Linked DNA regions of Homo sapiens: all the other regions are linked to region 3. Evidence: promoter capture Hi-C in 16 types of primary human blood cells and fetal thymus (Javierre and others, 2016). All regions are on one chromosome and are shown on one strand. Each heading gives the region's core, a stretch centred on a gene start or on the middle of the fragment in contact. The rest is flanking DNA. Distances are from core to core; before and after follow the strand shown.

Region 1 (3,763 bases), core at 969-3,468, 280 kb before region 3:
TTGTGTCCATGTTATTCATTTACTTACCATGTTCCTTTAAAGTAGAATATTTCCTTTCTTGTTATATATTTGACATTCCAAGCTGCTTATCAAGCTGGTATCCAAGCAGTGGTAAGCTTTCATCCTTTCTTAGCTCCATAACGTTGTGAAACAGCCAGTTAAGAGAATCGTAAATAATTGTCAACTCACAGTTGAATTCTCTGCCTATGTAGGTAACTTTTTTCTAATTTCTGGAACATATAGATATATAAGAAATATCAAAGAATAGGTAGTTATTTCAAAGTTTAATAAGTAAAACTTGTTCATAAACATTTGAGCACCATGAAATCAAAATACCCTATAACTACTTTCTATAGTCATATCTAATTTATATTTTTTTCATTTCCAGTTGTAACTAGATATGTAGTAAAGTCTGAAAAGACTTTACCATAGACAATAACATGCAGTTTTATCAGCACCAAAGAATGTTGTCCAAAAGAAACTTTTTAATACCTGTCTTTCTATTTATAACATCTGAATATTTTCATTCTTATATTAAGAATTTTGATAAGTAGATTGAATTTAGTATGAGTACTATTTTCTTATATATACCACAATGGCAAACATGTATTATAAATCATATTTTTGTCTTACCAATTTTAATATATGAGGGGTTTTAGAAATTTGTTGTAAGTTATTTTTATATTCCTTGTCTTTTGCATATTTTTTGGCCAAAATCTTCAATACATATTAAAATTTTTGAGTGGTGGGAAAATAATTGCATATTGATGTTTTAATGCAATTTTTATACATTAAAAAATTAAGTAGATAGGTGCAATAAATATTACACCAAAGTTAAAATTGTCATTTCCCTTAGAAGACATATAAACAGCAAAAAAATTAATGTGATTGTGAGATATTAGAGTGAGAGAGAGCAGGGGCTGAAGGTTGGGGAGGTACAATTATAAAGTATGGAAACTCTAATATTGAAAGCACCAGGGTACTGTATTTCAGCTCATGCAAATCATGCAACTAGGCCAGGTGCAGTGTCTCTTGCCTGAAATCCTGGCACTTTGGGAGGCTAAAGCAAAAGGATAGCTTGAGCCCAGGAGTTTGAGAACAGCCTGAGCAACATAGCAAGATTCCATCTCTACAAAAATTTTTAAAAATTAGCTGGGGCATGGTGGCACATACCTCTTGGGAGGCTGAGGCAGGAGGATTGCTTGAACCTAGGAGGCCAAGGCTGCAGTGAGCCATGATGGCACCACTGCTCTCCAGCCTGGGTGACACAGAAAGATTTTATCTCAAAAAAAAAAAAAAAATTCATGCAACTTTAGGCAAATCAGCCTTTCTGAGGTATCTTTTTTTTTTCCTCATATATAAACTATATAAAACCTGCTCAAATTTACAGCACAGGATATGGGAACAAAAGGTATAATGTATGTGAAAATGCAGTGGAAGTTGAAAAAGGCTAAATAGGCCGGGTGCGGTGGCTCACGCCTGTAATCCCAGCACTTTGGGAGGCCGAGGTGGGCGGATCACGAGGTCAGGAGATCGAGACCATCCTGGCTAACATGGTGAAACCCTGTCTCTACTAAAAATGCAAAAAATTAGCCAGATGTGGTGGCAGGCGCCTGTAGTCCCAGCTACTCGGCAGGCTAAGGCAGGAGAATGGCGTTAACCTGGGAGGCGGAGCTGGCAGGCAGCCGAGATAGCACCACTGCACTCTAGCCTGGGTGACAGAGCAAGACTCCATCTCAAAAACAAAAAAGAAAAAGGCTAAATACGAAGAATTGTTACTTTTTAAGCCTGACTTCAAAGGTAGCCGTCATTAACTTGTCTCTTTTTTTCTATAAATTAGCATCTCAAGAGATTAATTAGATGTTTAACATATAAATAAGTTAAAAATAATGCCCAAAATAGAAGCCTGTTTTGAGGGAGGGGAGTTTGGATTTTTTTTTCAGAGACAAGGTCTCACTCTGTTGCCCAGGCTGGAGTGCAATGACATGATCATTGCTCACTGCAGCCTTGAACTCCTGAGCTCAAGCAATCCTCCCACCTCAGCCTCTCCAGTAGGTAGGACTGCAGGTGCACATTACCATGCCCAGCTAATTTATTGTTTGTAGAGACAGGGTCTCACCATGTTGCCCATGCAAGTCTCGGAACTCCTGGGCTCAAGTGATCCTCCCACCTCTTCTTCCCAAAGTATGAGGATTATAGCCATCCTGGCTAACACGGTGAAACCCCATCTCTACTAAAAATACAAAAAATTAGCGGGGCGTGGTGGCGGGCGCCTGTAGTCCCAGCTCCTCGGGAGGCTGAGGCAGGAGAATGGTGTGAACCCGGGAGGCGGAGGTTGCAGTGAGCCGAGATCGTGCCACTGCACTCCAGCCTGGGTGACAGAGTGAGACTCCGTCTCAAAAAAAAAAAAAAAAGAAAGAAAATAATACAATCATTTATGGCTTTTTGTGTTTTATTTATGTTTTTATTTATTAGTTTTTAGAGTCTCGCTCTGTCGCCAGGCTTGAGTGCAGTGGTGCAATCTGGCTCACTGTAACCTCCACCTCCTGGGTTCAAACGATTCTCCTGCCTCAGCCTCCTGAGTAGCTGGGACTACAGGTGCACGCCACTACGCCCAGCTAATTTTTGTATTTTTTTTTTAGTAGAGACAGAGTTTCACCATGTTGGCCAGGATGGTCTCGACCTCGACCTTGTGATCCATCCGCCCACCTCGGCCTCCCAAAGTGTGGGATTACAGGCATCAGCCACCGTGCCCGGCCTGTGTTTTATTTTTAATTATAATTCTTTTCTTCTGTTATAGCAATTTATGGCGTTTTAAACATTCAGTAAATTAACTCATAACAAATACTGAAGGCCTTTATACTAAATACACTGCACTAGGAGCTAGGGATAAAGTCCTCAGTAATACAAAGTCCTGCCCTAATGGAGCTTACTTCTAATGTAGAAGACAAGACCAGTATGTAATAAAATGTAGTAAGTGCTGTGAAGAAAAGCAATAACTTACTGAACTTTTGCCATGTTCCAGATGGACACTGTTCTAAACAATAAATATGTGTAATTATTATTTCCATTTTACTGATGCAGAAACTGAGGCAGGAAAAGGTTAATTAACCTGCCCCAAATCATACACGTTATAAGTGGGAAAGCCAATTTTCTCAACTAGGCACTCTGGATTCAGGGTTGAGACTCAACTAAAGCAGCGTTCAAGGACAGAGTTATAGAGGTGCCAGAGAGTGGTTGAAGAGGATTTCTATGGAAGAAGACTTCAGCACTGCATTGAAGTCAGGAGGCAAACAATCTCCAGGATTCTAAACCATCTTCTACTAACAGCTACTATTCTAGACTGAGAGAACATCAAATGAAATGCAAGGACATTTGAGACAGGAGGTGCTTAGCATGATTAAAAAAAAAAGAAGCAAGAGGCCGGTGATCGCAGCAAACTTAGACAGACAGCATGTTGAGAACTTGGAAAGTCTGTGGATGGCTCCAAATAAGGTACTGACTTGAGCCAATGTGTTTCAAAAGAATCAGGGTAGGAGAGCAAGAGTGGAATCTAGGGGACAGTTGGAAGGCTTTTGCTGAAGCTGAAATGAGAGAGGATGGTGACTTGAACTAAGTAACATATTCATGGCCCCTTATTTGTAAACTTGAAAGATGAATCAGATACAAACCCTACCTTCAATATGCTTGTTACAGTAGGGAAGAGAAGACATAAGTAACTGAGAGATTAGAGAGATTTGATGCCACAAGCAAATAGCAAACT
Region 2 (3,899 bases), core at 1,393-3,892, 340 kb before region 3:
AGTGAGCTATGATCTCACCACTGAATTCCAGCCTGGGTGACACAGCAAGACCCTGTCTCAAAAAATAAATAAATAGGCCGGCCACGGTGGCTCACGCCTGTAATCCCAGCACTCTGGGAGGCCAAGGCGGGCAGATCACCTGAGGTCGGGAGTTCAAGACCAGCCTGACAAACATGGAGAAACCCCTACAAAAAATACAAAATTAGCCAGTCACGGTGGCACATGCCTGTAATCCCAGCTACTCGGGAGGCTGAGGCAGGAGAATCACTTGAACCCAGGAGATGGAGGTTGCGGTGAGCCAAGATTCGTCATTGCACTCCAGCCTGGGCAACAAGAGTGAAACTCCATCTCAAAAAAATAAAAAATAAATAAATAAAATAAATGCGTTATCAGTAACAATATTTTTACATAGTCTCAAAGTATCTCAAGACAAAAATACTTACTAACTTTACATTGCAAAATCTGGCAGACATCATCGTACCAAATGATGACAGTTAATTTCACCAGTGATGAGACAAATCAACATCATATGCCTTCTGAGATGATGCATTAAGAAGAACACAGCTGGCTGGGCTTGGTGGCTCATGCCTGTAATCCCAGCACTTCGGGAGGCCGAGGCAGGTGGATCACTTGAGGTCAGGAGTTAGAGACCAGCCTGGCCAACTGGTGAAACCTCGTCTCTACTAAAAATACAAAAATTAGCTGAGCATGGTGACACAAGCCTGTAATCCCATCTACTCGGGAGGCTGAGACAGGAGAATCACTTGAACCCAGGAGACGGAGGTTGCAGTGAGCTGAGATCGCGCCACTGCACTCTAGCCTGGGCAACAGTGTGGGACTCCGTCTCAAAAAAAAAAAAGAACACGACATCACTTCTGCAGTATTTCTGCCAAAATGATTATCCTAAATCTAATCATGGGGAAACATCAAACACAATCTGATGGACATTCTGCAAAATAATCGACCTGTCCTCTTCAAAATTCCAGGTCATGAAAGAAAGAAGAGACTAGGAACTGTTGCAGATAGAAGGAAACAAATGAGACACGGCAATTAAATGCAACACGTGATCCTGTATTGGATCCTGGATCTATAAATAACTTTATTGGGAAAAATCAGTAAAATTTGAATGAAGTTTGTGGATTAGAAGGTGCTATGGTGGCCGAGCACGGTGGCTCATGCCTGTAATCCCAGCACTTTGGCAGGCCGAGGCAGGTGGATCACCTGAGGTCAGAAGTTTGAGACCAGCCTGGCCAACATGGTGAAACCCAGTCTCTACTAAAAATACAAAAAATTAGCCAGGCATGGTGGCAGGCACCTGTAATCCCAGCTACTTGGGAGGCTGAGGCAGGAGAATTGCTTGAACCTGGGAGAAGGAGGTTGCAGTGAGCTGAGATCGTGCCATTGCACTCCAGCCTGGGCAACAAGAGTGAAACTCCATCTAAAAAAAAAAAAAAAAAAAGAAGGTGCTATGGTATCAATGATAATTTCCTGATTTTCATGGGCATTCTGTGATTACATAGAAGAGTATCCTTATTTTTATGAAACAGACACTAAAGTATTTAGGGGTGATTGGCATCATGTCTGTAACTTATTCTCAGATGGTTCTGGAAAAAGAAATAATCTTTATCTATACAGAGAGAAAAAGAATAATAAGGCAGATATGGTACGTTACTAACGATTAGGGAATCAGGTGGAGGGAACATAGGAGTTCTCTACAGTATTCTTGAAACTGCATTAAGGTTTTTAATTATGCCCACTTTAATAGCTGTAAAATATTTCTTATAACTCTATTTTATAAATCCCCGGCATCTATTTAATTCAAGATCAGAATACAATAAGAGCATGAAGGTAATGAGAAATAAGTCAGGCACAAAGAGAACTTATAAAGGTAAATAAGAGCTATTCACTAAATATACTAAGGCCTATGAATCTTAGGTTCAATTTTTTTTTCTTTTTTTTTTTTTTGAGATGGAGTCTTGCTCTGTTGCCCAGGCTGGAGTGCAGTGGTGAGATCTCAGCTCACTGCAACCTCTGCCTCTTGGGTTCAAGCGATTCTCCTGCCTCAGCCTCCTGGATAGCTGGGACTACAGGCACACGCCACCATGCCCAGCTAATTTTTGTATTTTTAGTAGAGACAGGGTTTCACCATATTGGCCAGGCTGGCCTCTTGGCCAGGCTGGTCTCGAACTCCTGTCCTCGTGATCCGCCTGCCTCAGCCTCCCAAAGTGCTGGGATTACAGGAGTGAGTCACCACGCCCAGCCCTTGGGTTCTATTTTTTAATTACATATGAAATTTTAGTATTAAAGAGCCAGAAGGAGCTTGAAAAGTCTAGTTCCTCAAGTCTTTTCGTCATACATGTTTACATTAGGATGAAGAATAGAAAGGGGCTGAGTACTGTGAGAAGCCAGGAAATGAGGTCCCATGAAGAGAGACATGTTTTCCAAGGAAAAGGACAAGGGAAGTCCACTCACCATGGAAGAAAGTGCCACAGGGCATGCTAGAAAGGCCAAGGACAGCAGAGGGATGGATGGAGGTGGGGGATACAGGTTGCTGCCAGGCAGTGGATGTGAGATGGGCCCCACCCTATTTTGCACCTCAGGCCTGCCAAGCCGGGATCCTTCTGCCCAGCCAGGCTCTGGGCAAGGAAGAGGGGTTCTGGGAGGAAGTCCCAAACTCGAAGGGTGAAGGAAGATGGCAGTGCCGAGGCTTTGGGAAGGGAGCCAGAGGCAGGAATTGGAATTGGGGCCTGGTTTCCCCATGGCAGATTTCATCCAGGTCCAGGATCTGCCCTCTCTTGGCATTGACTGGCCAAGCCATGGCTCAGGTATTCCACACCTGGGCCCGGAACCACATGCCAGAAAACCCAACACTGTTCGGCCCCAGCCGGCAACTTCCAGCAGCCAGGAGCAAACAGGACTTGTGAAGGAGGCAGTGGATCTCCAGAGCCCAGCAGCAGGGAGGCTACTTTCCGGGAGAGGGCAGCAGCACAGGAGAAGGCCCTGCCGCCTACAGGGGTCCTACTCCACTCCGGGACCCTGCCCATCTGTGGCCATCCTCCCACCAGCAGCCTGTCACCTCCCATCCCTCCCGCTGGTGACAGGCACCGGGGTACCGTGCCCAGCCCCCGGGCACCTCCACAGGGCTGCCATGTGGCAGAGGAAGCCGGTGAACTGACGCTTGGCTGCAGCCAGGCAGGCCTAAGCTCTGTTGCCCCGCCGCATCCCAGCTACACCCACAGGCCTGGATGCCAACCAGCTGGCGTCAGTGCCCGCGGTGCCTTCCAGCACCCGCCTGTCCTGGAGGAGCTGCACCTGTCCCCTAATATCTTCACCCGCCTCTTAGGGGCAGCCTTCTCGGCCCTGGCGTGCATGGTGCACCACCTCCACCTCTCTGAAAAGCTGGCCTGGGTGCCCGTGGAGGCCTTCGTGGGGCTGCAGATCCAAGTGAACCAATCCGCCAACCCGTGAAACTGGGACTGTGCCCTCCAGGGAGTGCTCAGGCTGGTGAGGCTGGCGCCGGGCACCAGGACAGGCATCGTGTGTGACCCCAGAACCCGACCAGACCTCGGTGGGGCAGGAGCTCCTGCCGCTGGCAGGGGAGGAAGAGCTGTGTGGGTCGGGGCAGGGCCCAGAGGAGCACCAAGGTGGCCCCTGCCGTTGAGGGGTGGCTGACCTGGTGCATTATGTATGGTAGAACCGAGATGAAACCTGGCGCACCCTCAAGCGGCCCCTGTTGCCAGTGCACCCAGAGGATGACTCCACCCTCAGCACAGTGGTCTAAGGGTGCTCCTGGGGCCACACCACACACTCCTCCTCCTACGCCCTCTCCCTTCCTCTGACCCCCCGCCTTCTCCCTTCCTCTGACCCCCTCGGCTTCCTGTGCAGCCTCACCCCAGCCC
Region 3 (3,678 bases), core at 919-3,418:
CTGCCCTGTAGCCTGGGTGACAGAGCAAGACTGTCTCAAAAAAAAAAAAAGATGACAGTAGTAGCTCATTATGTTAATTTTCATTTTTAAAATTACAAATTAGATTTAACAATTTAGGAACCATTTGTATTTGTTTTATAAGTTGTCCATGTTTGTGCCCATTTTTCTATTTCATTTTTTCCTTTTTAATTTGTAAAAATTCTTTACTGAAGGCTGGGTGTGGTGGCTCACACTTGTAATCCCCGCACTTTGGGAGGCGGAGGCAGATGGATCACCTGAGTTCGGGAGTTCAAGATTACCCTGGCCAACATGGTGAAACCCCATCTCTACTAAAAATACAAATTAGTTGGGCATGATGGCATGTGCCTGTAATCCCAGCTACTTGGGAGGCTGAGGCAGGAGAATCGCTTGAACCTGGGAGGCAGAGGTTGCAGTAAACTGAGATTGCACCACTGCACTCCTGCCTGGGCGATAGAGAAAGACAGTCTCAATGAAAAAAAAGAAAAAAGAAAAATTCTTTACTGAAGACATTATTTCTTTTTATTTTTAGGTGTTTTTGTTGTTGTGGTTTGGTTTGGTTTTTTTGTTTGTTTGTTTTTTGTTTGGAGACAGAGTCTTGCTCTGTCGTACAGGCTGGAGTTCAGTGGCACGAGCTTGGCTCACTGCAGCTTCTGCCTCCTGGGTTCAAACAATTCTCCTGCCTCAGCCTCCTGAGTAGCTGGGATTACAGATGCGTGCCACCACGCCTGGCTAATTTTTCTATTTTCAATAGAGATGGGTTTTTGCCATGTTGGCCAGGCTGGTCTTGAACTCCTGGCCTCAAGTGATCTGCCTGCCTTGGCCTCCCACAGTGCAGATAGTACAGGCATGAGCCATCGTGTTCAGCTCCTTTTTGTATTTTAAGTTGTAGGAACTTATTCAGTTTGTCATTTACCTTGTAGTTTTGTTTTTATAGTTAAAGGGACTAGCTAAACAGCACAATGTAGGTAAATGAAAGATGGCTTCATAATCATCACACTCATGGTGTAATTTAAAAATCTTCTCCTTTGGTTCTTATTAATGCCTGCACTGTGAATCTGACAGATTGAAAATGGAAGCCCTGACTGACAGGGAACATGGAATGATAGACCCTGACAGCGGAGATGAAGCCCAGCTTAATGGAGGACATTCTGCAGAGGAATCTCTGGGTGAACCCACTCAAGCCACTGTGCCGGAAACCTGGTCTCTTCCTTTGAGTCAGAATAGTGCCAGTGAACTGCCTGCTAGCCAGCCCCAGCCCTTTTCAGCCCAAGGAGACATGGAAGAAAACATAATAATAGAAGACTACGAGAGTGATGGGACATAGAAGCCAGCCTGCTAATCAGATTGCTACTTCACAGCTTCATTTTTGTTTCATTCAGTGGTACTTCAGCAGAGTTAATATGCTTTTCTGATGAATTACACAACAGTTTGTTAATTCTTCATTCTTGTAGTATTTCATCACAAGAAACCTACTCTTCTGTCATCTTGAAGTAAATAGAAGATCAAGCCTTCAAATCTCTTAATTTTTTCGGTATTTATTAAATCTGTGAGTGGTTTAAGGAGCGGTCAGTGTGTATAAAGTGTGTTTGAACATTATGCCAAATATCAAGATGTGAAGGACTAATTCAGGATGCAAAAACGTTATTGGGGGGTTGTAAATATCAACTATTCAACAGTTTAGGATGCAATTACGAGTGTAAACTGTGTGCCTTATTTACACTTTATTGTCTCCCGCTTCTCAGATAGTTTTGATGTGTTGTACAGTGGAATATCTTAGATACTTTTTGGAAAGTATTTACATAAGTTATATCACAATTAAAATGTTGAATTTAATTTTGTTTCTCCTGTCTTTTAACATTATCTAGCACGCACTCGCTGCCATGGGTCCTTAAGCACAGTGCACCAATCTCCCTCCCCCAGTGTCAAACTTTTCAAAAGATAGGGAAGAGGATGGCAACGTTGCGATGAGAACTGTAAACTCTTTCCAAAAGAGCCCAGTGTGTGGTCATTGCCGCGACGTGCCGGCTGGTGGCACCGAGCAGCCTGGGCCCAGAGCGGTTGTCGGGCCGACAGATCCGGGCGGGGCAAAGCCGGGCGGGGAAAGCTGGGCTCGTCCCGTCCCGGCCCCGCCCCCACCCCGGGAGCCCGATACCGGTTTCAGAGTCCTGGGCAGCGTGCGCGCTCTTCCTGGCGGCTGCGCAGGTAAGTGGGACCGGGGTGGGGCCACGTGACCGGGAGAGGAGGGCCCGGCGGCCCCCGGCCCAGGTGTGCTGCGACGGACGGCTGCCCGCGCTCGGCGCTCAGCCTGCCATAGCCCGCGGGGGAGGCCGGAGCCAGGGATCCGGGGAGGCCCGCGTCCCGCCAGGTTTCGCTCTGCGGACGCAGGTGCGGCCGAGCCGCCGTCCTTCCGGGCGCGGGGCGGGGCGCGCACCTCGGGGCGATCTCGGTGCTCCTTACCTGGGAGGTCTCCCGGCTTAGTTTCGGCCTCGTTGGGTCGGAATCTCCAAAGACAGTGGGTTTCAGCCAGAAACGCGAAGACGAACGCCTAGCCGGCGCGGGCAGAACCGAGGACACAATGAGATTTGTGGGACCGGGCGCCCAGAGGCTGGCGCGGGGGAGACCCCACAGCTAAAATGCTCGGTACCCCCGGGCAGTCGTGGGTTAGTTAGAACCGCAGAGCCTTTCCCGACCCCTCGGAAGCGCAGAAGTATCCGAAATCTACCCGTTTCTTGGGTCCAGCAAAACTTTTAAGCCAGGTAAACCGGTGGTTCTGTTTGTGTAAAGGTGACCAGGCATGATTCCTGTGACACTTTGCTGGGGCAGCCATTTCTCCTGCCATTGCCGCGGCTTTCCAAGATGAGTGTCCAAGAGTGGAGTAAGGGTCCGGGGCCTGAGCAGGACAAAGACACACGCTGCCGCGACCTGCGGGACCAGAACGAACTCTCAGTGACATCTTGAAAGACATTAGGGGTATCCAGATATTTAAGATGTAATGAAATACAGCTAACCATTCCCTTCTAAAAATCACATTATCTTGCTTTTCCACAACTCTTTAATAATTGCTTGTTTTTTCTTTAAAAATGGATAGGGTGGTTTGATTCAAATAAGCCACTTCACAGGTGAAGAGTTAAATCCATTACAGTGAATCGTATTTTTACCAGTGAGTTGAATTAAGCATAGCGTATCCTGTAAATGCTGTGTAAAACTTGCTAAAATCATTTGTTGTGCTTTTGCTTCTACATTTCTTAGGAATGTGTTTCAAAAACTAGAGTCGTAATAGCATTTCTAGAACTTACACTTTTTTAGAGAAAGAAAGAGAAAGGTACAAAAATAACTGATTGTTATAATATACAGAGCCGCTTTGCATTGGGCACCCTGCTGGGGCCATCACAGTTAATCCTCTAAGGTCGGAGTGCCCTATTAGAAGACCCTGGGTTTCCACCGCATTCCCTTGTCTCCAGTCTGTACATACCCTGTGTGCCTTGCTTGCCCTCTTAACGTCTCTACCTGGATTTTTAACGCATCTGAAACACTCTTCAGTCTGCTGCTCCCCAAGGCTAAGCTGGAGGGGTGGAGAATGAGGTATAGATAGATAAAATGATCAGATGTCTGGGGTTTACTTCAGAGGACTCTATTGGCAGAGGAAATAGTATGGGG
Region 4 (3,668 bases), core at 362-2,861, 300 kb before region 3:
TGGCACTGCGGGCATTTATTCAGTATAGATTTAATGACAAAGGCCTTGAATCAACACGCTTTGTGGGTAAATAACATTGCTGACCCCCTACATAGAGAGCAGTCTTGAGCGCAAATGATCAAAGGTCGGTTTTAGGACAACATGAGTAAACGAGCTATTTAGATAAACTCCTCTACACTCCCTTGTATCTACGCCTTAAGCTTTTAGGCTTCTGATAAGAGAATCTGGCTGCCTTCAGCCAAAATATCCTTCAAAACTTGCAAAACCCCCAGCCTTCCAAGAAGGTTTGCTTCTATTCCTATAATTTCTCCCACCACTGTGACTGATCTCCCACACTTCCTGTGCATGGTGCATTTTCCTAGACATAAAGGAAAGGATAGATAAAGACAAATAAGGTATAATAGTCCCTATTCTGAAAGGGACTTTCAAGCAAAGTAATGAAGGGAGATGAATGAAGTAATGAAGTGAACAAAGTAACATGCCAAGTAGAGCAGAGTAAAAGAATACTCTGCCTGTAGATTTCAAACTGGGTCATTAGTATTAAAGCATGGGCCACTATTTAATCCTTCCCCCTCACTAATAGAGTACTCCAAAATAAATTTCAAGTGGATTGAAGAGCTTTGTGAGTTTACAAAATAGACATTTGTAAAAACATAGAATAAAATACGTAGATGGAGAAAATTCTGAGCATAAAAGCAGTGGAAAAAATCACAAAGGGAAAACTCACTATATTTGGCTTCATAATGATTATAAACTTAACGTATAACAGAAATCAGTGTGTATACAAAAAACTAACAACAAAAATTGCCAGAAATAAGTTTTACATTCCTTTCAAAGTATAAATCACCCATTTCAGTTTAAAAAATGCTTAAGATCCTTGGCAGGAAATCAGCAAAAAACTGGGAATGACAACTCACAAAAGAAATAAAAATGACTTGAAAACATTTAAAAAAAAAGTTTTCCTCCTTAAGTAACTAGAAGTGAGAGTGTTCTCATTAGTGTGAGAAATGGATCAGGGCATCAGTCCAGGACTTGATGATTGTTTTTTCTTTTTTTTTTTTTTGAGATGGAGTCTCACTGGGTTGCCCAGGCTGGAGTGCAGTGGCACCATCTTGGCTCACTGCAACCTCCACCTCCCAGGTTCAAGCAATTCTCCTGCTTCAGCCTCCCGAGTAGCTGAGATTACAGGCACATGCCACTACACTTGGCTAATTTTTGTATTTTTAGTAGAGACAAGGTTTCACTATGTTGGCCAGGCTGGTGTTGAACTCCTGACCTTGTGATCTGTCCGCCTTGGCCTCCCAAAGTGCTGAGATTACAGGTGTGAACCACCACGCCCGGACTTTTTTTTTCTTTTTCTTTTTTTTTTTTTTTGAGACAGAGTTTCACTCTGTCACCCAGGCTGGTGTGCAGTGGCACAATCTCAGCTCACTGCAACCTCTGCTGCCCAGGTTCAAGCAATTCTCCTGCCTCAGCCTCCTGAGTAGCTGGAATTACAGGCACCTGCCACTGCGCCTGGCCTAATTTTTGTACTTTTAGTAGAGACAGGGTTTCACCATATTGGTCAGGCTGGTCTTGAACTCCTGACCTCATGATCCACCCGCCTCGGCCTCCCAAAGTGCTGGGATTACAGGCGTGAGCCACCACGCCTGGCCTTTTTTTCTTAATTATGAGACTGAAGCATTACAAAATTCTCAGTTGCCTTCTTTGTTAACAAAAAGATTAAGTTATGTTCTCTGTATTTGATTGTTGTTGATGTTGCCATATCCTAACTCAGTGAAAACTTAAGAAATTTAAAAGTACATGGTTTTTCTCATGTGTAGTGTACTGAATTTTGTTGTAATACCACACTAACAGAATTTATCCATTATAGTGGTAATCATAGAATGAAGAGTATCCTCACTTTGCATTGTAAACTTTAATAGAAGTATTGTATTATACTTCCATTATAGGTATATATAATACACTTAATGTATCTATATATAATAGGTATTCTACAAGTATATGTATCATACAAGACATGTTATACCTGTAAATTTGTAAATATAGAATGTATAGTAATGCTGTTTAGCCAGGCACAGTGGCTCATGCCTGTAATCCTAGGACTTTGGGAGACCGAGGCGGGTGGATCACGAGGTCAAGAGATCAAGACCACCCTGACCAACATGGTGAAACCCGTCTGTACTAAAAATGCAAAAATTAGCCAAGCATGGTGATGTGCACCTGTAATCCCAGCTACTCAGGAGGCTGAGGCAGGAGAATCACTTGAACCCGGGAGATGGAGGTTGCAGTGAGCCGAGATCGTGCCATTGCACTCCAGCCTGGGCAACAGAGACTCTCCTCAAAAAAAAAAAAGGAATGTATAGTAATGCTATTTAGATTGCTCTTGAAGCTACCATTCTGAAATATTTACATAAACCGAGCTAATATGTCCTTTCTATAATTTTCTTTTATGAAAACCTTTTTCCTCAGCCTGAACAACATGGCTAGACCTGGTCTCTACAAATAAAAAATTAACCAGGCATGGTGGCACATGCCTGTGGTCCCAGCTATTTGGTAGGCTGAGGCAAGAGGATCACTTGAGCCCAGGAATTGGAGGCTGCAGTGAGCTGTGTTCACGCCACTGTACTCCAGCCTGGGCGACAGCGAGATCTGTCTGAAAAAAAAAAAAAAATTTTCCCTGGAATGAGAACATAAATTTTATCAGCTTTTTAAGTACTTTGTACTTTACTAGATCTTAGAAATGACTTTGCTGGTTTTACCGTGCCCTCTGGATTATTTTTCTCTAGAGGAGTAGTATCTAGAATATTCTCTATTCCTTGCATATTGTAGAGTAAAATAAGTTCCTACTAGTTATTCTTTAGCTACGTGGGCTTTTCAACCAGAAGTAAAGTAGCATTTAGGAAGGCTGATTCTGTAAACAGTACCAATTTGTACATAGTAATATGCCCAGCCATGTTAGCAAAGAGATAATCAATGTTATCATTAGTTTATATCTCTTTGATATCTTACTGCCAATACTGTAAGCTTATAATATGTAAGAGCTTTAATGTCAGATTTTTTTCTGTTTTTTAATGCATTTTTGTAAATGCTTACTTGAGAAAATGTTTTTCTTTAGTATTTATGTAGTTACGGTCTTAAAAATCAACCCTTGAAAAAGTCATCCTTGATGTTGTTTTCTTTATTTTCAGACAAGGGGAGCTGCTTTTTTCATTATTGCTGTGATCTGTTTATTGCTTTTTGACAATGATGATCTCATGGCTAAAATGGCTGAACACCGTATCCTTTTGGAATAGATCAGAGTTGTTTCAAGTCTTGAGGAAAACTAGAAGCCTGGAACAATGGAAAAAGAAAGGATAAGTGAATTAAACTGATCAATGATGAATGAAACTTTCATAGATTAATGTAGATATTCTAAATCAGTATTCAAATAATGAACAAACTCATTATAAGTTAAATATTTTATAGCATCTCTGTATCACCTACAGTACCCTAAATTTTCAGAAATGTAGGGACATTGAAAGAATATTTTGGAATGTCCTGGTGCTGGAAAAAAAAAAGGTGATTTGCCACTCAACATGTTTGCTCCCTTATAATTTAACAATTAAAAGGCTGATAAATGAAAAACCTTTAGTATCTTCTTGCCTGAAAGAAAAAGTTCAAATTCC
Region 5 (3,898 bases), core at 633-3,132, 260 kb before region 3:
CCTATCCCAAGGCATTAAAATATTGATTAGGGCCAGGCACGGTGGCTCACGCCTGTAATCCCAACACTTTGGGAGGCTTAGGCAGGCGGATCACCTGAGGTCAGGAGTTTGAGACCAGCCTGTCCAACAAAGCAAAACTTCGTCTCTACTAAAAATAGAAAAATTAGCCAAGCGTGATGGCGCAGGCCTGTAATCCCAGCTACTTAGGAGGCTGAGGCAGGAGAATCACTTGAACCCAGGAGGCGGAGGTTGTAGTTAGCTGAGATCGTGCCACTGCACTCCAGCCTAGACGACAGCAAGACTCTGTCTCAAAAATAAAATAAAATAAATGATAATATAAAATAAAATATTGAGCCCAGGTGCGGCAGCTCATACCTGTAATCCCAGCACTTTGGGAGGCTGAAGCGGGTGGATCACGAGGTCAGGAGTTCGAGACCAGCCTGGCCAACATGGTGAAAACCCATCTCTACGAAAATACAAAAATCAGCCAGGCGTGGTGGCAGGCTCCTGTAGTCCCAGCTACTCAAGAGGCTGAGGCAGGAGGATTGCTTGAACCCAGGAGGCAGAGGTTGCAGTGAGCCCAAAGATCACACTATTGCCTGGTCAACAGAGTGAGACTCGGTCTCAAAAAATAATAATATATTGATTAAGGCTGGGTATGGTGGTTCACACCTGTAACCCCAGCACATCGGGAAGCTGAGGCAGGATTGCTTGAACCTAAGAGTTCCAAAGCAGCCTGGGAAACATATTGAGAACTCATCTCTACAAAAAATTAAAAAGTTAGATGTGGTGACTCACGCCTATAGTCCCACCTACTTGGGAGGCTGAGATGGGAGGACTGCTTGAGCCCAGGAGGTCAAGGCTGCAGTGAGCCATGACTGTACCACTGCACTCCAGCCTGTGTGATAGAGTAAGACCCTGTCTAAAAAAAAAAAAAAAAAAAACAGGCCAGGCTCACACCTGTAATCCCAGCACTTTGGGAGGCTGAGGTGGGCAGATCATGGGATCATGAGGTCAGGAGATGGAGACTATCCTGGCTAACACAGTGAAACCCCATCTCCACTAAAAATACAAAAAAATTAGCTGGGCGTGGTGGCGGGAGCCTGTAGTCCCAGCTACTTGGGAGGCTGAGGCAGGAGAATGGCATGAACCCGGAAGGCAGAGCTTGCAGTGAGCTGAGATTGTGCCCACTGCACTCCAGCCTAGGCAACAGAGCAAGACTCCATCTCAAAAAAAAAAAAAACACACATATTGGCCAGGCATAGTGGCTCACACCTGTAATCTCAGCACTTTGGGAGGCCAAGGCAGGTAGATCACTTGAGCTCAGGAATTTGAGACCAGCCTGGGCAACATGGTGAAACACCATCTCTACAAAAAATACAAAAATGAGTGGGGTGTGGTAGTGCTTGCCTGTAGTCCAAGCTACTTGGGGGGCTGAGGTGAGAGGATGGCTTGAGACCGGCAGGTCGAGGCTGCAAAGAAGCCATGTTCGCACCTCTGCACTCTAGCTTGGGCCAGAGAGTGAGACTCTGTCTGCCTCTCTCTCTTTATCTCTCCAGGGGACACCCCAAGCCCAGTAATGCTGTAGATCTATATATATCTGTATATATAGATTAGGCCAGGTATACTGACTTGTGCCTGTAATCCCAGCTATTTGAGAGGCTAAGATATACATACATATAGATTAGGCCAAGCATAGTAACTCATGCCTGTAATCCCAGCTATTCAGGAGGCTAAGACAGGAGCATCACTTAAACCCAGGAGTTTAAGACTAACCTGGGCAGTATAGCAAGATCCTCTCTCTCTCTCTCTCTCTCTCTCTCCATATATATGTATTAGAAGCTCTGTGTCAGTGTGCAAGCATGTCAAGTGGTGAGCTTCAGTATAAGGGTAACCAAGCGGTGGCCCAGTCATTTCATGGGGACCTTTCCTAACCATCAATATTTTTAGAACTTTTTCTGTTGGGCTGATCCATTCCCCAGAAACCATTCTCTTACTTCACTTAGAAGGGTATAAGTCCAGCTGCCAGCCTTTTGGGGACTGGGTAGGAGAAGGCGACTGGAGGTCTTACCATTTGGTATGCACAATTTTACTTAAAGCCCCTCTCAGCTTGCCTGGTCTCCTGAAATCCAGAACCCCTTTAGTTCAGCCACTCCAGAACATAAACCTCTAGTCGTCTGCCAGGACCAAGGAGAGGTTGTGCTCTTACTGCACTCAGCTGAGCAGGATGGAATCAACCAATTCTTTTCTTTTTTAAATTCTTTTTTATATTTTAAAAATATTTTCATCCAGCTAAAAATATCAACAACCAATTCTTTTTTGTTGTTTTTGTTTTTTCGGTTTTTTTTTTTTGAGACAGGGTCTCACTCTGTCACCCAGGCTGGGGTACAGTGGCATGATCATAGCTCACTGCAGCCTCAACCTCCCAGGCTCAAGTAATCCTCCCGCATCAGCCTCCTGAATAGCTGGGACTACAGGCGCCCACCACCATGCTCGGCTAATTTTTTTTTTGAAACAGGGTCTCACTATGTTGCCTAGGTCTCAAACCTTTGGGCTCAAGTGATCCTCCACAGCCTCCCAAAGTTCTGGGATTACAGGTGTGAGCCACCGTGCCTGGCCATCATGCATCTTTTAAAAACCATTGTTTTGGCAGAGCTTGAGGAAGTAACCAAGATACGTGTGTATTAGTCTGTCATGTTAGATCACTACTCCCTCTGTGAAACACTGACTTCTCTTTTCTGAGATACCACAATCAGTTCTCCTGCCTCTCTGGTGTTCTTGCCCAATATTCTTAGATGGCTTTTCTTCCTCCGCTCCATCTTTAAATATGGAAGGCCCAGACCTTGCTTCTGGGCATCTACTCTTCTGTATGTTCCTTCCCTAGATGATCTCATCTGTGTCAGGCATAAAAGGCCCTCTACAGCAAAAAGGGATTATATCTCCCATCCTGACCTCTGTCTAGTAGACTAGTAGACCTCGCCTCTTGTATATCTTTTTTTTGAGACAGGGTCTCACTCTGTCGCTCAGGCTGGAGTACAGTGGTGTGATCATGGCTCACTGCAGCCCCAACCACCTTAGCTCAAATGATCCTCCTGCCTCAGCTTCCCAAGTAGCTAGCATCACAGGTGCATGCCTCCACACCAGGCTAATTTTTTAAAGAGTTTTTTGTAGAGATGAGGTCTCACTATGTTGCCCTGGCTGGGTCCTGTATATCTCTAAGCGTTCCAAATACAGCAGAATTCTTTCTTTCTTTTTTTTTTTTTTTTGAGAGGGAGTCTCACTCTGTCACCCAGGCTGGAATGCAGTGGCACGATCTCAGCTCACTGCAACCTCTGCCTCCCAGATTCAAGCGATTCTCTTGCCTCAGCCTCCCAAGTACCTGGGATTACAGGCGCCCACCACCACGCCTGGCTAATTTTTGTTTTTTTAGTAGAGATGGAGTTTCACCATGTTGGCCAGGCTGGTCTCGAACTCCTGACCTCAGGTGATCCACCCACCTCGGCCTCCCAAAGTGCTGGGATTATAGGCGTGAGCCACCATGCCTGGCCTCAGAATTCATAATATCCTATCCAAAACCTGCTACCCTCTAAAAGGTGGTCCTCTCTTGGTCTTTTCTATTTCAGTTACTCAAGCCAAAACCCAGGAGTCATCCTTGATTCCTATTTCTCTCACTCAAGCATGCAAACCATTAAGACCTAGCAACTCCACTTCCATAACATATGCTGGCCCATCCCTTTCTGTCCACCTCTAATAGTCCATCCAAGCCATCATCTTTCCTGGTCTCTTGCAATAGCCTCTTTCTGGCCCCCTTGCTTCTCTTCTCCTCCCACCTCTCCTTCATCCTCCCCTTACCCCATATATTCTCCCCATAGTGGCTAAGGTAATATTTTTGTTCATT
Region 6 (3,708 bases), core at 879-3,378, 370 kb before region 3:
CTTTCTGGAATTATACAAGAGTAGTGAAAGATGGATAATAGAGGCAGATACCACTTTATCTCCTATTTTCTATCTTTCATTTCTGCCAAGGAGAAAGATTACTGGCCAGAAAATAATACAACAAGGATTAAGATAAAAGATCTAAAAATCCAAACTGGTGGAAAAATCATAAGAAAGCATCTGGGTTCTCTACATCGGTGCAAACCTCCTGGCCCCAACAAACTACATCCTAGCCTATACCTAGAAGAGATTGGTGACAAAATGAGCTGCTGTTCGTTATCACAAAGAATTCTAGAAACTGGGGCAGGAATCAATAGTGCAATTCTCAGGCAGGTTGTCTAACACCACCTTGAACATGGAGAGAAGAAAGGGGAGTATTTAATTGTGCATAAGATTCAGATAGGGAAAGTCATGACTAATGAATTAACAGGACTTCTGTTTTTATCCAAACTCTGCCAGACTGACAAATCAGAAGAAGCTGTCAATACGCAGCTTCACCATTTGAACTCAGCATTTGACAGAGACTTTTACCTTGTGAACAAGACAGAAGAATGTGGCCCAGATGATCACAAAGATAGGTGCTAATTATGAATCAATGTCAGCCCAGAGTTTCTAGTGTAAAGGAATTCTGTTTGCAGACTTGTCCTGTTCATTGAGTAAATAGTTGAGTGTACAGTTGGCTTGCTAATGCACTTCTCTGACTGCTGGGAAAGGTAGCCAATATATTTAATATGGCAGAGTGAAGATCCAAAGGCTCTAACGATAAGCCAAACTTAATAAAAATTTTAACTGAAATAAATGTAAAGCCCTACGCTTACATTTTTTTCGTGCATAAGAACAGAATCAGGTCCAGGCGCGGTGGCTCACACCTGTAATCCCAGCACTTTGAGAGGCCGAGGTGGGCGGATCACCTGAGGACGGGAGTTCAAGACCGCCTGACCAACATGGAGAAACCCCGTCTCTACTAAAAATACAAAAAAAAAAATTAGCCGGGCATGGTGGCGCATGCCTTTAATCCCGGCTACTCGGGAGGCTGAGGCAGGAGAATCGCTTGAACCCGGGAGGCGGAGGTTGTGGTGAGCCGAGATTGCACCATTGCACTCCAGCCTGGGCAACAAGAGTGGAAACTCCGTCTCAAAAAAAAAAGAACAGAATCAGAAAAACATGACTAGGCCCCTAATTAAACATGGTGGGGTTTATTTCTTTCTTGTTTTATTTCTTCTGTCCTCCCAAACCTATCAAAATGATAATAGATTAATTTTTGACAAAAAGTAAAACTCAAAAAAAAAAGAATGAGAGAGGAGAAATAGAAGACAGGAGATATGAGCAATAATTTGAAACACAGAAAGTGCATAGTAACTGATTTAGCAGAGCCTACCGTCAATGGGTCTGCAAAGAAGAATTCCAATGAAAGTGAAACCAATTCACTCCCAAGAACCCTGGAAAGACCTAGCACTAGGTTCTGTCCGGGTGCTGCAGAAAGGAGTGGTGAAGCACTGAGTGAAAAGTAATAGTGTGTGAAAGTATTCATATTAATAGAATGAGCTGCTTAGTGAGGGTGTGTTTTCATTCACTGAAGATGTTGGAGCAGAATTAAACACTAATCAAATATGTTATAAAAGTGATTCAAATGTTGGACACAAACTTGACTCCAATGACTTTTAAAGCCCCATCACTCTGAAATCCTATGATTCTAGAATTTATAGTTACTTACAAAATTGTGTAGACAGGACTTCAATAGGTTTTAGGTACTTCCGGATGTATTTTTATCAGCGTCCAATAGGTGGCGCTGTGGTATAAGATGAGACTCAGCAAATGGCTGCCCTTACTTGATTCTCCTGTGCCCTACCGAGTGTCTAATAACAAGTAACAGCTAGAATGTTTGATTTTTTTTAATCGGAAATCTAAACCCAGAGATTCAGAACACCTAGGTTTCATAGTTCTTGTGGCGCATGAGCCTTTGTGTGATTTAGTTTGTCATCCTTCTCTGTCCTTCCGTCTTATTCCTATCCAAGTTGTGGCACTTCAATGTATTTGTCGTTCTCGGACAGCAAAGTAAGTCAAACGCGAAACAACTCCCCCTTCACATCCCGGATGCCCTGCCTCCATTGCGTGTACCCTTTATCTCAGGGCTCTGAGTGTGTGGGGCTCTACAAGCGTTATCTCCCTTGATTTAAAAAATAATAATAAATAAAAACAAGACAAAACAAAGAACTTACTGTTCCAGCACAAGTTTACATCAGTATCGATCAGGAATACGATTGTCTCCGGCTGTCCTCCCTTTTCTGCTGATTAGGAGATTCATGCTTCGCTTCTTTGTTTTTGTTGTTTTTGTTTTCGTTTTGATTTATTAAATGAATTCCTTCATATCATAGCCAAGTCCAATACACTTTGCTTCCTAAAAGCTAATTACTTAATATCTAGCTCTTATTGACAAATTTTGCCACTCATCAAAGTTGTAAAACTTGGTTTCTTCATTTCCCTTTATCTGCTTCAGATTTACAAGGTCCCTGGGGAATTTCTGCTTCTCATCAAGGAATGTCTCCATCAACTCCATATATTCAGGTAACTCTGCTCCCACATTGAAGACTCAAATCCAGGAAAATTTCCTAACATGAGGCATCTGTAAAGCTGTCCAATTCACCCTCTTGGCATAACCTGTCCCGCAGGGTTTTTCAACTTAATGATTTTTTTTTTCATTTTGGCTAAATGCCATTAGTCCACCCAGAAAGCAAGACTGGCCTTTTTGTTTGTTTGTTTTTAACGGAGGTTTCACTCTTGTTGCCCAGGCTGGAGTGCAGTGGCGCGATCTCAGCTCACTGCAACCTCCGCCTTCCAGGTTCAAGCAATTCTCCTCCCTCAGCCTCCCAAGTAGTTGAGATTACAGGCACGTGCCACCACTCACAGCCAATTTTTGTATTTTTATTAAAGACGGGGTTTCACCATGTTGCATGTTGGCCAGGCTGGTCTCAAACTCCTGACCTCAAGTGATATGCCTGCCTCAGCCTCCCAAAGTGCTGGGATTACAGACGTGAGCCATTGCACCGGCCAAGGCTGCCTTTTTTAAATACTTGAGTCTAGTCTAACTGACAAGAAATGTTAGTGAGTTGAGCTGGGGGGGAAAAGGCCCATACTCACAATGCAAAACAGTAACAAACCCCAAACAACAACAGCAACAACAACAAAAAACCAGCATTCTTTCCATGACCAGATTTTCAATAGTAATTTCATCTTTGCACCTTGTGTAAGTACACATCCTAGCAGCCTTGCTCAGTTACATATCTGATTGACTCCTGTTGTTTTACTTGGTTTTCTAAAATGTCCTCTGTACTAATCTGATCTGAACTCATATTTTCCATCAGTTCTATACCAACTTTCTAGACTTGATCTTTCTGTTGTTCTCTGGAAAGAACAGAAGTATTTAGAGCAGTTAATAAGCACTTGTGGAAACCTCTCTGAGTTGTTTGTCTCACAGAAGGAAGAGTTACACCTGGCTAATTAGTCCTCCAACTACATCGTTTCTGTAGTTTCAAAACGTTCTCACATTTCCAACATCAGTGGTGTAAGTGAACACCCACCCACCCCAAATCACAAAATAAAAAACTTTCAAAGGAATGTTATGCATTTGTCATACAGATTCTCATATGTTTATTTTAAATTTATTATGTTCATAACATATTTAGTCTGTTAAGTAGCTTATAATGTTGG

Evidence for each region. The method cuts DNA at HindIII sites, captures the fragments that hold promoters and counts their contacts. A CHiCAGO score of 5 or more calls a contact.
Region 1: a fragment that was not itself captured here is called in contact with the fragment with the promoter of MARVELD2 in region 3 in 11 of 17 cell types (neutrophils, naive CD8 T cells, total CD4 T cells and 8 more); the score reaches 11.9 in neutrophils.
Region 2: a fragment that was not itself captured here is called in contact with the fragment with the promoter of MARVELD2 in region 3 in 14 of 17 cell types (neutrophils, M2 macrophages, erythroblasts and 11 more); the score reaches 17.9 in neutrophils.
Region 4: a contact is called between a fragment that was not itself captured here and the fragment with the promoter of MARVELD2 in region 3, in 7 of 17 cell types (monocytes, erythroblasts, fetal thymus and 4 more). The highest score is 8.9, in monocytes.
Region 5: a contact is called between a fragment that was not itself captured here and the fragment with the promoter of MARVELD2 in region 3, in 2 of 17 cell types (neutrophils and M1 macrophages). The highest score is 8.2, in neutrophils.
Region 6: a contact is called between a fragment that was not itself captured here and the fragment with the promoter of MARVELD2 in region 3, in 11 of 17 cell types (neutrophils, M0 macrophages, activated CD4 T cells and 8 more). The highest score is 11.7, in neutrophils.

What each region holds. Positions count from the first base shown.
Region 1 is chr5:69,130,316-69,134,078 of GRCh38, forward strand. SLC30A5 (solute carrier family 30 member 5) reads left to right here. Exons shown (of 16, transcript NM_022902.5): 16 at 1-754. Among named protein-coding and RNA genes, the nearest start is that of SNORA50D, 29 kb to the right of the region's middle. The HindIII fragment of the contact is 4,208 bases long and covers 115-3,763 here.
Region 2 is chr5:69,071,900-69,075,798 of GRCh38, forward strand. It overlaps the pseudogene LOC100130639. Among named protein-coding and RNA genes, the nearest start is that of SLC30A5, 20 kb to the right of the region's middle. RefSeq lists a silencer at 3,149-3,317. The HindIII fragment of the contact is 6,468 bases long and covers 1-3,899 here.
Region 3 is chr5:69,412,948-69,416,625 of GRCh38, forward strand. MARVELD2 (MARVEL domain containing 2) reads left to right here and starts at 2,169. Exons shown (of 7, transcript NM_001038603.3): 1 at 2,169-2,223. It overlaps RAD17 (RAD17 checkpoint clamp loader component), which reads left to right. Exons shown (of 19, transcript NM_133338.3): 19 at 1,084-1,854. The coding sequence ends at 1,345. RefSeq lists enhancers at 1,946-2,829, 2,830-3,678. The HindIII fragment of the contact is 19,290 bases long and covers 1-3,678 here.
Region 4 is chr5:69,109,949-69,113,616 of GRCh38, forward strand. It overlaps SLC30A5 (solute carrier family 30 member 5), which reads left to right. Exons shown (of 16, transcript NM_022902.5): 6 at 3,192-3,279. Among named protein-coding and RNA genes, the nearest start is that of SLC30A5, 18 kb to the left of the region's middle. The HindIII fragment of the contact is 2,827 bases long and covers 199-3,025 here.
Region 5 is chr5:69,150,191-69,154,088 of GRCh38, forward strand. No RefSeq gene overlaps it. Among named protein-coding and RNA genes, the nearest start is that of SNORA50D, 8.7 kb to the right of the region's middle. The HindIII fragment of the contact is 5,938 bases long and covers 1-3,898 here.
Region 6 is chr5:69,041,224-69,044,931 of GRCh38, forward strand. No RefSeq gene overlaps it. Among named protein-coding and RNA genes, the nearest start is that of LINC02198, 13 kb to the left of the region's middle. The HindIII fragment of the contact is 5,020 bases long and covers 1-3,708 here.